Regions from separate parts of the Homo sapiens genome. Here all the other regions are linked to region 3. Evidence: promoter capture Hi-C in human tissues and cell types (Jung and others, 2019). All regions are on one chromosome and are shown on one strand. The core of a region is centred on a gene start or on the middle of the fragment in contact, and the rest is flanking DNA. Distances in the headings are between cores, read along the strand shown. Region 1 holds the start of DYNLL1 (dynein light chain LC8-type 1). Region 2 has its middle 16 kb from the start of COX6A1. Region 3 holds the start of C12orf43 (chromosome 12 open reading frame 43).

The links. Contacts are between HindIII fragments. The study calls those that stand out against the background at their distance.
Region 1: a fragment that was not itself captured here is called in contact with the fragment with the promoter of C12orf43 in region 3 in 2 of the 25 tissues and cell types used here (IMR-90 fibroblasts and dorsolateral prefrontal cortex).
Region 2: a fragment that was not itself captured here is called in contact with the fragment with the promoter of C12orf43 in region 3 in 1 of the 25 tissues and cell types used here (lymphoblastoid cells).

The regions. Positions count from the first base shown.
Region 1 is chr12:120,494,166-120,497,150 of GRCh38, forward strand. DYNLL1 (dynein light chain LC8-type 1) reads left to right here and starts at 1,948. Exons shown (of 3, transcript NM_003746.3): 1 at 1,948-2,051; 2 at 2,251-2,388. The coding sequence starts at 2,257. It overlaps NRAV (negative regulator of antiviral response), which reads right to left and starts at 1,781. Exons shown (of 2, transcript NR_038854.1): 1 at 1,658-1,781. RefSeq lists silencers at 1,492-1,541, 1,832-2,351 and an enhancer at 1,606-2,272. The HindIII fragment of the contact is 4,647 bases long and covers 1-2,985 here.
Region 2 is chr12:120,420,331-120,423,331 of GRCh38, forward strand. No RefSeq gene overlaps it. Among named protein-coding and RNA genes, the nearest start is that of COX6A1, 16 kb to the right of the region's middle. The HindIII fragment of the contact is 4,053 bases long and covers 1-3,001 here.
Region 3 is chr12:121,014,909-121,017,851 of GRCh38, forward strand. C12orf43 (chromosome 12 open reading frame 43) reads right to left here and starts at 1,579. Exons shown (of 6, transcript NM_022895.3): 1 at 1,422-1,579. The coding sequence starts at 1,566. It also overlaps a transcript of OASL not described here. RefSeq lists enhancers at 758-1,273, 1,245-1,754 and a silencer at 1,482-1,675. The HindIII fragment of the contact is 5,444 bases long and covers 1-2,943 here.

The DNA of each region.
Region 1 (2,985 bases), core at 11-2,510, 520 kb before region 3:
GTAATATTATAACTCCTCAAACCCTGAATCTCATCATTAGAAACATGGAACTGGAAAAAGCTGTTGATTTAATTGATATGCATATGTTGAACCTGAAAAGGTTCTAATTATTGCCATTTTTTTCCTTTTTTTTTTTTTTGAGACGGAGTTGCCCAGGCTGGAGTGCAATGGCGCGATCTCGGCTCACTACAGACTCTGTGTCCCGGGTTCAAGTGATTCTCCTGCCTCAGCCTCCTGAGTAGGTGGGATTACAGGCACGTGCCACCATGCCCAGCTAATTTTGTATTTTTAGTAGAGATGGGGTTTCTCCATGTTGATCAGGCTGGTCTCAAACTCCTTACCTCAGGTCATCCACCCGCCTCGGCCTCCCAAAGTGCTGGGATTATAGGCATGAGCCACCGCACCCGGCCTATTCCCATCTTTTTCTTTCTGGAGTTGTGTGCCTCTGCTCAAATTGTTTTATTTTTATTTTTTGAGATGGGGTTTGGCCATATTGCCCAGGCTGGTCTCCAACTACTGAGCTCAAGCGATCCCCTTGACTCGGCTTCTCAAAGTGCTGGGATTACAGGTGTGAGCCATCATGCCCAGCCACAAATTGTTTTAAGGAGTAATGAGAGTAGATGGTCAGAGGAAAATGTAGAAATGTAAATAGGAAGCTTCCAGATACATGATTAACCTGATAACTTATTTATGGAGGTTCGAAAAATACATTATAGGCATTTCAGAGCTGGTTGTTCAAAACCTTGCTGTGGCCTTTGGGATAGTTGTATAAACTGACAATTATTGATAAGATTCATTGATCATTTACTATGTGCCTCACATTGTGCTGAGAGAACTTCAAATGTTTAATACTGCTAACAAGCGTATGAACTGGTTTCCTTTTACATTTAGTCCTCCTTTACTTAAAGAAGACATTCAAATAGCTAGTAAATGACAGTGCTGGGATTTAAATCCAGATCTGACTTGTCCCTCAACTCCCCCAAGATCTTGCTTTTTTAACCACTTCGTGTCTCCTCCCTAAGCCAGAGGGGACGTCATCTCTCTAACGGCCGCTTTTTCGTCCATTAGAATACCTCCTCCTCAGAGATAAATCCCAACCAAGAATCTCTCCCACACAGGAAAGACTGCCTCACCTGAGCAAGAAGCTTCACCCTGGACAAAAACCCCGGGGCTCAACACTCCCAAATCCACCCGGATCCCCATCCCCAACCCCTTAAAGGATGTCCGCATTGCTTGGCAGAGACCCCACTCTTGGGGATAATCCCTTAATTCGTAAGGAAACACCCTCCCTCCTTGAAGCCCTCCCTCAATCCTGAGGATGCCCTCCCCTAAATATTTCAGAGCAGAACCGACTACAAATGGGGCCCAGTGCAAAATGAAAACGTAAGGGTCCCTCCTGTGAGACTGCACTGCTGGTTTACCCACGAAGCCGGCCCTGCTTCAGAGATACCCTTTCAGTAAAGGGAGAGGCCACCTCTGTCGTAATCCTGCTAACCTGGGGTGCGAGATCATGCGACCTGTCGTGGTGGGGGGGCGGGGGGGTGGGGGCAGGAATGGCCACCAACTTCTAGAGACTGTTGTTCGAGAACACACCCTGGGACAACCTCCGTGAATTTGGAATCACTTCCCTTGGCCCCGGCAGAAGCTCCCTTCCTACCTCTCCAGACAGCTGGGTGGTCCTCGTAACCCGGCCGGGGCTCCACCTTCTGGGTGTGTGGGCCTCGTAGCGTGCGGCCCATTGCCCGGGCAACCGACGCCGTGAGCGGTGCATTGTGGTCTGCAACAAAATGCAGGAGAAAGATCCTGAGGGAACCATGGAGTCAATGGACCAATGGAAGAATGCCGTGGGCTGCGTCAAGCCAATAGGGTCGCGCGGCGAGGGGCGGGGCCGGCGGGAGCAGGGCGGGGCCTGAGCACTAGGCGGCGGCGGCTGGCGTGGGGCTGCTTAGATGCGCCACGGTTTCGGTAGCGACGGTATCTCTAGCCGGGCCTGAGCTGTGCTAGCACCTCCCCCAGGAGACCGTTGCAGTCGGCCAGCCCCCTTCTCCACGGTGAGAAACTCGGGGGGCCAGGGGGTGTCCTCGCTGCCTTATTTCGCCCCACTCCGGACTTAGCCCTCCGCGTAGCCCGCGCTTCCTGAGAAGTGGGGTGGGGGGCGTCGTCCCGTGGTGGCGCCGGCCGGGGTGGGGGCAGTTAGTGCCTGGGGGGCGCGGCCCAACTCAACCCCTTACCCCAGGCCTTGCCCACTAGGTAACCATGTGCGACCGAAAGGCCGTGATCAAAAATGCGGACATGTCGGAAGAGATGCAACAGGACTCGGTGGAGTGCGCTACTCAGGCGCTGGAGAAATACAACATAGAGAAGGACATTGCGGCTCATATCAAGAAGGTGAGGATGGGCGCGGGGGCCGATACGCAGCCGGGAGCAGGGGGTTCCTTCCCCCCGATCCTGCTTTCCTAAGGGCGCCTGACAGGTCCCGGGAATACTGCTGGCGGCTTGGGGCGTAGAAGCTTCCAGAAAGGACGCAGATGCATTTTGCGCTCCTGTGGAGAAGACCAGACCCCCGGCGTCCGAAGTTTTTTTTTTTTTTTTTTTAATTACCCAGCTCCGCGGGGGGAAAGCGCCACCTAGCAACGGTATCTAAGATCAGGGAGCAGCGGTTCCCCCTTCTGTGTGGTTCCTGCGCCGAGGATCCATCTGGGTGTTCCGGAGGGGGGAGCTGCGTGGGTGTTTCCAGCCGGGCCGGGAGGAGATCTTGCCAGCCTTCCAGTGGGGAGTTGAGGGAAGGTGGTGGGTGGTGGCGGGGCTGGGGGCTGGGGTAGGGGCTTGGTAAATGGCAGTCTAGAAAGCCGGCAGGACTGCCAACTTCTCGAGCAGTGTTTGCTGGAAGGGAAGAAAGCTGGCAGCCTAAGCCGTGGGAGGGTTCCAGTCGAGAATGGGAAGATGAAAGACTTCAGATGGAACAGAAATAAATGCCTTTTTTGA
Region 2 (3,001 bases), core at 240-2,739, 590 kb before region 3:
GGGTCTCGGCTGGGCATGGTGGCTCACGCCTGTAATCCCAGTACTTTGGGAGACTGAGGTGGGCGGATCCCAAGGTCAGGAGATGGAGACCATCCTGGCTAACACGGTGAAACCCCATCTCTACTAAAAATACAAAAACAAAATTAGTCAGGCGTGGTGGCGGGCGCCTGTAGTCCCAGCTACTCGGGAGGCTGAGGCAGGAGAATGGTGTGAACCCGGAAGGCGGAGCTTGCAGTGAGCCGAGATCGCGCCACTGCACTCAAGCCTCGGCAACAGAGCGAGACTCCGTCTCAAAAAAAAAAAAAAAAAAAAAAGACAGGGTCTCACTCTGTTGTCCAGGCTGGAGTGCAGTGACGCAATCATGGCTTATTCAGCATTGACCTCCTGAGCTCCTGTGATCCTCCTGCCTCCACCTTCCGAGTAGCTGAGACTACAGGTGTGCACCACCATGCCTGGCTAACTTTTGTATTTTTTGTAGAGACGTGGGTCTCACTATGTTGCCCAGGCTGATCTTGACCTCCCGGGCTCAAGCAATCCTCCTGCCTTGGCCTCCCAAAGTGCTAGGATTACAGGCATGAGCCACCATGCCTGGCCAATAAAGCTTAATTAAAAAGAAAAGAAGCCAGGTGCGGTGGTTCCTGCCTGTAATCCCAGCACTTTGGGAGGCTGAGGTGGGTGCATCACCTGAGGTCAGGAGTTTGAGACCAGCCTGGCCAACATAGTGAAACCTCATCTCTACTAAAAATACAAAACTTGGCCGGGCATGGTGGCGGGTGCCTGTAATCCCAGCTACTCGGGATGCTGAGACAGGAGAATTGCTTGAACCTGGGAGGCGGAGGTTGCAGTGAGCCAAGATCTGCCACTGCTCTCCAGCCTGGGCAACACAGTGAGACTCTGTCTCAAAAAATAAACTACTGGGAGCCGTGACTCATGCCTGTAATCCCAGCACTTTGGGAGGCTGAGGCGGGCGGATCACCTAAAGTCAGGAGTTCAAGACCAGCCTGTCCAACATGGTGAAACTCCGTCTTTACTAAAAAATACAAAAATTAGCCGGTTATGGTGGCGGGCACCTGTAATCCCAGCTACTTGAGAGGCTAAGACAGGAGAATTGCTTGAACCCAGGAGGCGGAGGTAGCAGTGAGCCAAGATCGTGCCACTGCACTCCAGCCTGGGCAACAGAGCGGGACTCCGTCCAGAAAAAAAAAAAAAAAGAGAGAGAGAGAGAGAGAGGAGATTGTGCAGTTCTCAATTATTTATCAATTTTGATTTCTTCTCTCTCCAGACCATAATACTAATATCGGCACCACACTTTGCAGCTTATAAAGCACTTTCAATTCTATTTTATTTAATTCTTGCAACCCCAGGCAGAAGGCTTTTATTACCCCCTTTCTATAGGTTGGGAAACTGAGGCTCAGAGAGGAGAAATGAAGGTTCCAAGTAGAGGTAAGTAAGGCATTCAACTGGGGCAAGAATTTAGAGTTACTTGATGAAGTGCCTAATTAGCCCCAGGGCATGGTGTTGACAAAGGAACTATAATGAAAACACTAAACTCTACCTTTTGTGGAGGAAGATCCCCTGGGGCGGGGGAAGGAGGTAAGGAGTAGAGACTAAGAAGTTGACCATGTCTGGTTCATCTGTGATCCTGGGCCAATGTAGGCCCTGGGGAAAGATTTGGTGCTGGGTTGAAGAAATAAGAAGTGAAGGAGGCCAGGCACAGTGGCTCACGCCTGTAATCTCAGCACTTTGGGAGGCCAAGGCGGGTGGATCACGAAGTCAGGAGTTCAAGACCAGCCTGGCCAAGATAGTGAAACCCCGTCTCTACTAAAAACACAAAATTAGCAGGGCGTGATGGTGCATGCCTGTAATCCCAGCTACTCGGGAGGCTAAGGCAGGACAATCGCTTGAATCCAGGAGGCAGAGGTTGCAGTGAGCTGAGATGTCACCATTGCACTCCAGCCTGGGCAACAAGAGCGAAACTCCATCTCAACAACAACACGGTGGCTCACGCCTGTAATCCTAGCACTTTAGGAGGCTGAGGTGGGCAGATCGCGAGGTCAGGAGATCAAGACCATCCTGGTTAACATGGTGAAACCCCGTCTCTACTAAAAATACAAAAAAAAATTAGCCAGGTATTGTGGCGGGTGCCTGTAGTCCCAGCTACTCGCGAGGTTGAGGCAGGAGAATGGCATGAACCCAGGAGGTGGAGCTTGCAGTGAGCCGAGATCGCGCGACTGCACTCCAGCCTGGGAGACAGAGCGAGACTCTGTCTCAAAAAAAAAAAAAAAAAAAAAAAAAACCAACAACAACCAAAAAAAAAACAAAAAGTGAATGAATAAATGAATGAATAAAGGGAGAAACTTGGAGCAAGACCCCTTCGCCCTCTCTGGACTCAGTTTCCCCATTTTTTACTTGTTGACAGCTAAGTTTCTCATCCTTAGGAAAATGAGCAGACACAATATTGTACTCTATTTCCAGATGCACACAGACCACCCTCCTGAACCCCTACTGTGGATCCCTTGGGAGGGGGTGATCCACTGAACCCTATGTAGGGAGCCCCTGAATTTGAGGATCTGAGATCCCTTCCAGCCCTGGTGTTAATAGTTGTAATAATGATAATAGTAATAATAATAGGATCCAGAAGTTTTGGGATATTGGCTCTGGGTCAGGCACTGTGCTAAAAGCTTTATCTCATGTAATCTCTTTACAGCCCTGTGACGCAGCCATGGTTATTATCATCTCCATTTTGCAGATGAGAAAACTGAGGCTTAGAGAGGCTAAATGACTTGCTCACGTTGCACAGCCTAAAAGTGAAGTCCATGGTTTCCAATTTAGCACTGCAGACACCAGGGCCCCAGCACTACCCCCCCTCCATTACGGAAGAGTAGGACCTCCATGGGGCCCGCCCTTCCTTCCTTCCTTCCTTCCCTCCCTCCTTCCTTCCTTCCTTCCTTCCTTCCTTCCTTCCCTCCTTCCCTCCCTCCCCTTCCCCTTCCCCTTCCCC
Region 3 (2,943 bases), core at 329-2,828:
GGTTGCAGTGAGCCATGATTGTGTCAGCCTCGGTAACAGACTGAGTCCTAGTTTTGAAAAAAAAAAGAGCGAGAATTAGGCAGGAGGAGGAAAGCAGTCCATGTGGAAAGACCAACCACATATTTGCCACCATGTATTGGGCCTTTAAGATGTGCCAAGCACTGTAGATTGCATTATCTCAGTTACTTCTCAACCTTATGGGGTGGGTACTATCACTACCCGCACTGTACAGATGAGGAAATTTAGGTACAGTGAGATTTAAGTACTTTGCTCAAGTTCCCACCGCTAATGAGATGGAAAGGCAGATCTGTAAATAGAACTTGCAGAGAAAACTGTGGTTATGGTACTAGGGGGTGAGAGGGGCAGACTATGGTCTGGAAGCTACCTACAGGAAGTGCAGTATGGCAGGAGGGAAGGAAGGGAGAGGAAGGCAATGGATCACCAAAGGGCTTGTAAGTCCTTTTAAACAAATCCAGCGGTTCTTAACCTTGCTTTGCCATAGCCTTCTCTAACAGCCTGGTGAAGCCCGGTTCTCTTCTCAGAGCAATGTTTTAAATGCATGAAATGCAACATACAGGATTACAAAGAAAACCAATGATACCGAAATTTAATTATCATGATAGTAAACAACCAAACTTGTGATGTATGTGCTTCTTACATCTTAGATATAGAGATGGGTCTAAAAATTAGAGTGGCACATTTTAAATCAGGGATGAGTGTAAATGACTTTTTTCCCCAATATCTTTTTATCAATAAAATGATATATTGATATCTGTATCTGCAAAGATTGTAATGAGATATGAAAATCTGTGACTTCTGTTGGGATAAAGTAACGGCATTGCCAGAACTACTGTGGCTTAGTGCTTGCAAGACGGAAAGAGATGCTAAAATTCAGTCAGAGATGAATAGAAAGCAAAGATGCAACATGTTTTCATTCCAAATTCAAGAACCCTTGGGTTCTATCCATGATTAGGCCCCTTGATGTTGCGGGGCTCTGTATTTATTCCCAGGGCACTAGGGAGTCACGGTCAGAGTGATGTGCTGGGCACTGCTCTTGGCAACAACCTCCAGGGTGGGAGAATGTGTTGGAGGTGGGGAAAGGCTGGGTGCGAGAATACCGGGAGGGGGCTGTTGCAGTTATCTCGAAGAGACGGCAGCCTTCCCAGTGTGGGGCAGTGAGGATAGACCCAAGGAGGCAGAATCAAAAGACATTTGGGTACCTCAGCTTCCCCGACTGGAATAATGAAATACCCTCCCTACTGCACCTGCCCATGCTTTCAATCTGCACTACACCCAGTCCCTGGAGGTCTCTCGGGGAAGGAAGCCGAGTCCCAGTGACTCTCTCCTCACCATCCATCCTCTCAGGCTCCAGGGGAAGATCCCACGCCCCTCAGCCAGTCTCCCCAAACATAGTACCCTACCGGCTCTTGGCTTCCCTGCCACGTGCGGGCGTTGCTCCAAGCCCCAAGCCGGCATTGCCGCCTCGCGGCACCGCTCCAGCTCCTCCGCATCGCTACTGCTGTTACTACTTTCCGAATCGCTCACTGTGCCACTGGGCGCCGCCATCTTGAACCACCGCAAAGGATTGTGGAGAACACCGCCGTTATCAAGCCTCCTTCATGACGTCACGTGAGAGGAGAGGCGCGAGGCATTGTGGGGATTGTAGTTCCAAGACTTGGACCGCCATTGGCCATGAACTGTACTGGGTTGGGGATACCAGGTGGGAATGGGGAGGTGGGCGGTTCTCAAAGGCAAGAGCTAGAAGGGCCTAAGAGATTAACTTCTCCAATCATTTCTTGATGACAGATCTCCAGAGGGGATGGGAATCTCCTAAGGAGTTAATGACAGACCCAGGATTAGTTCCCAGGTTTTGATTCCATGTCATTTATTCTAGTAATTTCCCAGTCCAGCTGGGCCTAAGAAACACCTTAGAGAGCTGGTTAAACTGCAGACTTTTGGGTCTCACAGAAAATACTAACAGAATCAGAATCTCTGATAGGTGGAATCCAGGAATCTGTATTTCCTTTAATAGCCTAGGGCCTTACTACTTAAGAGTGTAGTCCATGAGCCAGCAGCATTGGTAACACCTGGGAGCTCGTTAGAAATGCAGAATCCAGGCTGGGCACGGTGGCTCACGCCTGTAATCCCAACACTTTGGGGGGCTGAGGCAGGCAGATCACAAGGTCAGGAGTTCGAGACCAGCCTGGCCAACATAGTGAAACCCCATCTCTACTAAAAATACAAAAATTAGCTGGGCATGGTGGCACGCACCTGTAGTCCCAGCTACTCAGGAGGCTGAGGCAGGAAAATCACTTGAACCTGGGAGGTGGAGGTTGAGGTGAGCCAAGATCGTGCCACTGCACTCCAGCCTGGGCAACAGACTGAGACTCTGTCTCGAAAAAAAAAAAAGAGAAATGCAGAATCCTGTCCGGGCACGGTGGCTCACATCTGTAATCCCAACACTTTGTGAGGCCGAGGCGGGCAGATCATGAGGTCAGGAGTTCGAGACTAGCCTGACCAACATGGTGAAACCCCATCTCTACTAAAAATACAAAAATTAGCCAGGCAATACTGACTCCCAGGACCCATCCAAGACCAAAAAATTAGAATCTCTGTGGTTAAAATACCTCACAGTGAAGGATGAACAAAATCACTTTACTTTTGTGTGTGGAATGCTGTTTCATGTTTTATCTTTGAAGACAGGTATGTCAAAACTTTACTAAAATAAACTCTCTGGCCTTGAGCTTTTTCTATTTCAAAGAAGAGGAAGGTGACTGATATGGTCTGAATGTGTTCCTCCAAAATTCATATGTTAAAATTGACACCATAAAATAAATAACAGAGAGACTGACTCTCCAAAATAAAGCGTTTATTCCAGAATTGCAAGGAATTGCAATTTGAGATATGCATGCTATAGTGGACTATAGGCACATTAAAAGAGGT